Regions from separate parts of the Homo sapiens genome. Here region 1 is linked to region 2. Evidence: promoter capture Hi-C in 16 types of primary human blood cells and fetal thymus (Javierre and others, 2016). All regions are on one chromosome and are shown on one strand. Each heading gives the region's core, a stretch centred on a gene start or on the middle of the fragment in contact. The rest is flanking DNA. Distances are from core to core; before and after follow the strand shown. Region 1 holds the start of ENKUR (enkurin, TRPC channel interacting protein). Region 2 overlaps DNAJC1 (DnaJ heat shock protein family (Hsp40) member C1).

What was found. Contacts are between HindIII fragments. The CHiCAGO score rates a contact against its expected background, and 5 or more counts as called.
Region 1: the fragment with the promoter of ENKUR here is called in contact with a fragment that was not itself captured in region 2 in 1 of 17 cell types (total CD8 T cells); the score reaches 5.5 in total CD8 T cells.

The regions. Positions count from the first base shown.
Region 1 is chr10:25,014,466-25,017,910 of GRCh38, reverse strand. ENKUR (enkurin, TRPC channel interacting protein) reads left to right here and starts at 1,753. Exons shown (of 6, transcript NM_145010.4): 1 at 1,753-2,051. The coding sequence starts at 1,975. THNSL1 (threonine synthase like 1) reads right to left here and starts at 1,299. Exons shown (of 3, transcript NM_024838.5): 1 at 1,219-1,299. RefSeq lists enhancers at 578-657, 1,257-1,551, 862-1,624 and silencers at 908-987, 1,168-1,367, 1,698-1,747. The HindIII fragment of the contact is 2,880 bases long and covers 483-3,362 here.
Region 2 is chr10:21,989,700-21,992,885 of GRCh38, reverse strand. The region is part of intron 1 of DNAJC1 (DnaJ heat shock protein family (Hsp40) member C1); the gene reads left to right. Among named protein-coding and RNA genes, the nearest start is that of DNAJC1, 12 kb to the left of the region's middle. The HindIII fragment of the contact is 5,693 bases long and covers 1-3,186 here.

The DNA of each region.
Region 1 (3,445 bases), core at 504-3,003, 3.0 Mb before region 2:
ATGGCGTTATCATTCCATGAGTCCTTGGTTCGAATCTTCGTACATACAGGAGGTTTCCCGCCAAATTTTTTCTCTATACTTGCTAAACAGAAATCCCAAACATAAAATACTCAAGGGCGAAAAGAAAGGGGCAAAGTGATATAGATTTGGATCTAGATCTAAATATAGATCTACAGATCCATCTATCTAAAATGTTTTGGAAGACAATCTGATGTGAAGAAATCTGGAGAATTTTCCCTAAGCGTCTGGGACAAAAATTAAAATCAACTGTATACAAAAAAAAAAAAAAGAAAAACTTAACGTATTCTTATGTAGTGAAATTCAGTAAGAGCCCAAAGTAAGGACCTACACATTCAGTAAAGCCTTTTTATACAGGAACTAAAAGGTTCACCAGGCCATTGTGTTGTTTTAATCACTCCGCCAGCCAACCAGGCAGTGAGAAACCCAGACTCAAGTGTGTTTTCTCTCCTCTCCGGGAAGCTTTATTTCCTTCGGGCAGAGTGGCCTCTGTACCGGTGGTTCAGAGGCATCCATCTTCCTCCCCAAATCCTATTACCAAAATGTCTTTTAAACACTCGGGTAAAAGCGTCTAAATGACTTTCCTACGGCAGGCCCATGTGCATAGATTTACGGGTGACCAGGTGGAACAAAAAGGAATAAAACCGCTTCTCAGAAGACAATTTTCCAACAAGGGACACCAAAAACTGGACAAAAACGTAAAGGCCCACTTAAAAGGCTTCTCCTCTTAGTTTAGGCTGCTCATTTACAAAGAGCAGGTCCACTGGTTCCTGGAGAACGACCTAGAGGAAGAGTCCCGACCCGGGGAAGAGCAGGCGCAGAGCCGACCCGGAGGACCGCCCAAGGGGCGGTCCCGGGAGCAGGGGCGGGAGGGCGAGCGCAGCAGGCGGAGGAGGCCGCGGGCCCCGTGCGCGCACTCACACACGTGGCGGGCAGGGCTGCGCGGCGTTCCGAGGAGCCTCGACCAGAAGCAGCAGGAAAAATGCGCGCAGAGTTGAGATGACCAGCGAGTAGCGGAAAGGGGAAGGGACGGTACGGGGAAAGGCATGCGATGGGAGCGGGCTGGCTTCTAGTTTTCCTTCCTTTCTCCTCCAATAACTCACCAAGGAAATCTCACTGAGAAGACGGGGGAAATGAAAGGAAATGGGGGAGCAGTGTCCACGAGCCGCTAAAGCCTCCACAGGAGACGGAGCACCGTACCTGCAGCTAGCTCCCCGGTCCCGCCCCCGCGCAGTGGACTCTGCGCCTGTGCCTGCGGCGGCCAGCGTGCCTCCGCTCCACGCCCTTCCCCGAGCGGCCTCGCGCAGGGCACGTGACTCTCCTTTCTCACTGTAGCCTATCCGAGCACTCCGATCTCCTCAGGCTCCTCCCCTCCCTCGTCTCCCTGGCGGCGCTGGCCTTGCGTCCTCGTGGTCTCAGCCGCTCGCTCCGCCCACACCGCGATTGGGGCCTGCTCACAAAAACCTTATTGGGTGACGCCTGCGCACCAGCTGCGCTTTGCCGTCTCTACTAGGATTTTTCTTTTTTCCCCAGATACACAGAAATAGAAAAGAGCACAGTTTTTAAGGGGACATCATTTTCACCCCGTTAACTTTCAAAGGCACGTAAAAACAGTGGCTTCCAAATGAGCTTCTCTAGCAGAAGGCGCTGCAGAAAGAGGGAAGAGGGGAGACCTAGTTTGCGGTGCTGCCTGCCACTTCCTCGTTGCCTAGTAACGGTTTCCACGGCAACCGCACAGTCAACGACGCTTAGCAATCCGGAGAGAAATAGGGTGTTTTCTTCCCGAGAGAGGACTGCTAAGAGGGGGTTAAAGGGGGACGATGTGAAGGAGAGAACCTGTGGTCCTTCAGAAGGCGAAGAAGAAAGAAAGGGGAAGCAGTGAAGAAAGGGACGGAGATACTGGGACAGGGAGAAAAAAGTTGTGGAGAGTAGCTTTTAAGGAGTCATTTGGTGGCCATGGATCCAACGTGCTCTTCTGAGTGCATTTATAACCTCATACCCAGTGACTTGAAGGAGCCTCCCCAGCCTCCTAGGTATGTGGATAAGCAAAGACTATCACTTGAAACAAGAATGGGGAATACTCAGTATTAATTAAGCATACATATACTGGAATTTTTAATAATAAATAAAATGTATTTTTGCCTCGATGAAGTAGCCTTGGAGGATAACTTGTTAGAGAAAAGGTCGAAATATCTAGGTATTCAGCATCTCACAGTTTTACAGAGAGGGCAGTCTGGCGCTGTGAGATGACCATTTTATTATATTACACTTAACCTCTTATTAATACGGTATGTGATTATTGTGTAATTTAATTATATGTGATATACAGCATAGTATGAAGTTTCATGTTGAAAAGAAAAAAATCACAATTCTATTATCTTGTTTAAGGATACTTGATGTTTGGTTTCAGGAGTTCGGTGTTGTATTTCTAACTGCACTACTCCCTCTCTAATGGGATAGGATAGGACTTTTCCCCCAAGATTTTTATGAAATATAAATTTACATTTGCTTTTGAGCCTCAGGTTTTTGATCAGTGAAACGAAATATCTACCACTATTAGGCAGTTTCTAAGGACTTTTTCAGATCTAATGGTTTAAATGGAAGGAAGAATTGGTGGATAGATAATGAACCAAAAAATATGTAATTGAGTTGAAATTTTACATAGGTCTTAGAACCTCTTAAATTCTCCAAATCTCAAAAACGTGCAAAGGAAGCACTTCAGTTACTCCCATCTGTAGGGACTTCTTAGAACTTACTTAAATCTGTGGGGAGCAAAGAAAGTAGTGGAGAAAATCTCATTTCTCCTAGGACTTGAAATGTTTCCTGTCTTTTACCATCATCCTTGTCCGTATGCAAGTCAAAACCACATTTGAAAAGGACTGGACTAAAAATCGGGCCTAGCAATTAATTGTCTTTGTGAACTTTAGAATAAAGTTTCATTTGTTTACTGATCTGTGAGATAAATGTACCAGATAATATCCAAGGCCCCTTTTAGATCTAATGGTCAATTATTTTTACTAGTATTAGGGTAATAGCTTCAACAAGTAGGCAGCTTCTTCAATTTTAAGTATCTGGTTTAAATTAGAGCAGTAACTGTATTACATCTCCATTAGCATATCAACATCTAGAGACTGGAAAGAGGAATGTAAAGTAAGTTATGGCACAGTTGCAGAATTTATTTTCAAATTTTCTATTGTTGCACCAACTTTTGGTTTCAAATTCCTGCATATTACATGAGATAAAACTCCTCTATAACAGATTGGTAGATTGTATTTCTATAGAATATTGAATTTGAGAGTTATTTTATTAGGTAGGTATTCTGTTCTTTGGCAAATTAAAAAGCTTTACTGCATCTAGACGATTTTTTTTTTCAAAAAAAATTTATAGGAACAGTCTTTATTCATTTGGCAAGCATTAATGGAGCCCC
Region 2 (3,186 bases), core at 236-2,735:
GTTTACAATAACTCCAGAGTAATACTTTAATGATCTGTAACGATCCACTGTATGAAGAGGATACAGATGACTTTGAAATGTATAAATATTCAAATTCTGGGTAGCCTAAAGAAATATTTTGTGACACTAAGGGATAAGATAATATTTTACATATAAATCATGACTGACAGATATTTCAGATTTTTGACAGCTGACACACTTTTTCAAGCCATTGATCCCTTAGAGCAGCACTGTGCAATAGATATGTGATACAAAACACAGAGGTGATGTTAAATTTTCTAAAAGTCACATTTAAGAATGTAAAAAACAGATGAACTTAATTTTTTTTTTTTTGAAATGGAGTCTTGCTCTGTTGCTCAGGCTGGAGTGCAGTGGCACAATCTCTGCTCACTGCAACCTCGTTCTCCTGGGTTCAAGCGATTCTCCTGCCTCAGCCTCCCTAGTAGCTAGGATTACAGGAGTGCACCACCATGCCCAGCCTGAAATTAATTTTGATAATGTATTTTATTTAACCCAATATACTAAAATATTATTCCAACATGGAGTCACATTTTCAAAAATTACTATTATTTTTTGAGACAGAGTCTCGTTCTGTCGCCCAGGCTGGTGTGCGATGGCACGATCTCAGATCACTGCAACCTCCGCCTCCCGGATTCAAGCAATTCTCCTGTCTCAGCCTCCCAAGTAACTGGGACTACGGGCACATGCCACCACACCCAGCTAATTTTTGCATTTTTAGTAGAGACGGGGTTTCACCATATTGGTCAGGCTGGTCTCGAACTCCTGATGTCAGGCGATCCGCCAACCTTGGCCTCCCAGAGTGCTGGGATTACAGGCGTGAGCCACCATGTCCAGCCAAAAATTATTAATGAAGTATTTCACATTTTAATTTTTTGTACTAAGTCAGCAAAATCCGTGTATGTTTTACATTTATACTTCTAGCACACCTTAATTTGGAAGCCAAATTTTGATTGAAAATACTTGATCTGTATTGAGATTTCATAAGGCATATAGCTAACAGGTACATTCACGTACCCAAATCGTTATAAGCAAAACTTTCCAGTAACTCAGTAGAATATCAGTTTTTCAATTTAAATATAAATTAATTAAAATTTTGGTTTCTCATTTGTACTGGCACATTTTAAGTGCTTAAATATGCCTAATGCTTATTGGATAGCATACATTGGATAGCCTTAGGGAATTAACATTTCTGTATTGTGTAGATATAGCTAAATGTTTTTGGATAAAATCACTGATTATTGTTTTTCACTGACTATTGTTTCCATTTTGTTAGGGACATAGTTTGTAGTTTTCGTATTTTTTTAAACCCAGTGTAGCTTTTGTTGTTTTGTTTTTAGGTTGTTCCAATTGTGCTAGCTATCATATTCCTAGTTACTTATCTATAGTATACATTTTGACCATGCTTTGTTCTGTAAAGGCTATTGGTATAAAGTTCATGCTGTTCTAGGAACATTGGTTGTCTGAACTTCCATGCATAGGCTTGTCTGCTAAGGGTGGTTTCAGGTAATCACTTTAATTAAAGTTGGTCATTTACTTTTGCTAGCTCATCTATTATATTTTATAATTCTTTAAGTGTTATTTATTAACAGTATATTAGGTCGTTAGTGATATTTTGACCAGGAAATCACTGGAGTTCCTATTTTGTAGTTTTAGCTTTCAGGGTGCCCATTCTCCCTATTCTGAAACTCATACATCTTATATATTGCTAGCTATGAAATATTCACTATATTCTTTCCTGTCATCTATTTTGATTATTATAGTATCTTTAATTAAATGATTTAGAATAGAGATTGCTAGGTGCATTTCTATTTGTGTGCCAATCTGTTGGCTCTTTATAATACCAATCAGGGATTCTAACATCACCCTTTTTTACTAGCTGCCTCTGCTACCTTTTCATAACTCCTAATGAGTACACCTTTACTTTGAACTGAATGATTAATTAACGATCTTTTTGCCTTTACCTTTTGTAATTTCATAAATAGCTGAGAAAAAGAAGTAGATTTTACTGTTGACAGTTCTTACACATACTTAGCTCCTGTTATTTCAAATGGACTTGGTACATCCAGGAAATTGTACTGGTGTCCAAGATCTTAAACATTCTATGCTGAGGGAAAAACAACAACAAAACAAAAATTTTAAAACTGACAATAGAGTCCTGAAGTTGGTGGAGACCTCACGAGTTTCTCTTTCCTTATATAGGAGTCTCTTCTGTAGCACTCCCAGCAGATGGTCTTCTAGCCTGTTTGATGGTGTCTAACCATAGGGATTATGAAACAACCTGTTAAGTTTTTGTATAATACTACTCAGTGGAAATTTTATTCTTAAAGCCCAAATCATAATTCTTATCTACTTTCAACATGCTCACTGTCTTCTGGAGTACCCCTGAACATATACTTCTTCTAAATAATTTTTCTTTGTGCCTTAAAATAAAATGCACAAGGGAAATAATTATTTGTTGATTTTCTCCACACAGTAAGGCCTTTTTTTAAAAAAAATACATCCAAACTGAGGGGGCTACTTGTTTTCATTGTCTTTAGATATGTACCAAGGCCACCCTAAAGAAGATGCAAGCCACCATAGTTACAGTTGTCTTGGCACTGTATTAGGCATGATTTGTGGTTACTATATACAATTCCCAGGGTTTATCAAAGTCAGCAATAGGAAATTTATGGAAGATTGAAAAATAAGATGATTTCTTGTATGCCATCTTTGATAATAGAGGCCACAGAATAAACTTAATTAAAAATGTAGCCAGAAATTGCTATAGACTCTTGAAGCAGCACCCCGTGTATAGTTGTGCAGTTTGTGTATCTGCTTCAAACCTGTCATTGTGTTATAAAAATGTTTTAGACTTTGGCATTGTTAAGAATTGCACATAGGTGGTTAAACTGTGAAGTAAATAATTTCTCTTTGATAATTGAAATATTATGTTTCTGCGAGTGGAATTTTAATTTTCAGGCCCATCTTGAGTGTGAGTTTCTCTCTCCTCTCTCTTCACCTCTCCCTAGTGGCTTTATAGATGTTTTTACTCTTTTCTCTGAGACACCTAGGCAAGAACTAGGTCTTATATAGGTGGCTTAGGGCTCCCTCCTGAGGTTACATTGGGGCCATTGCAGATCCAGATACCAAGCCTGCAGGTCCCTTGGCCTGGTCTGGACTGTGGGG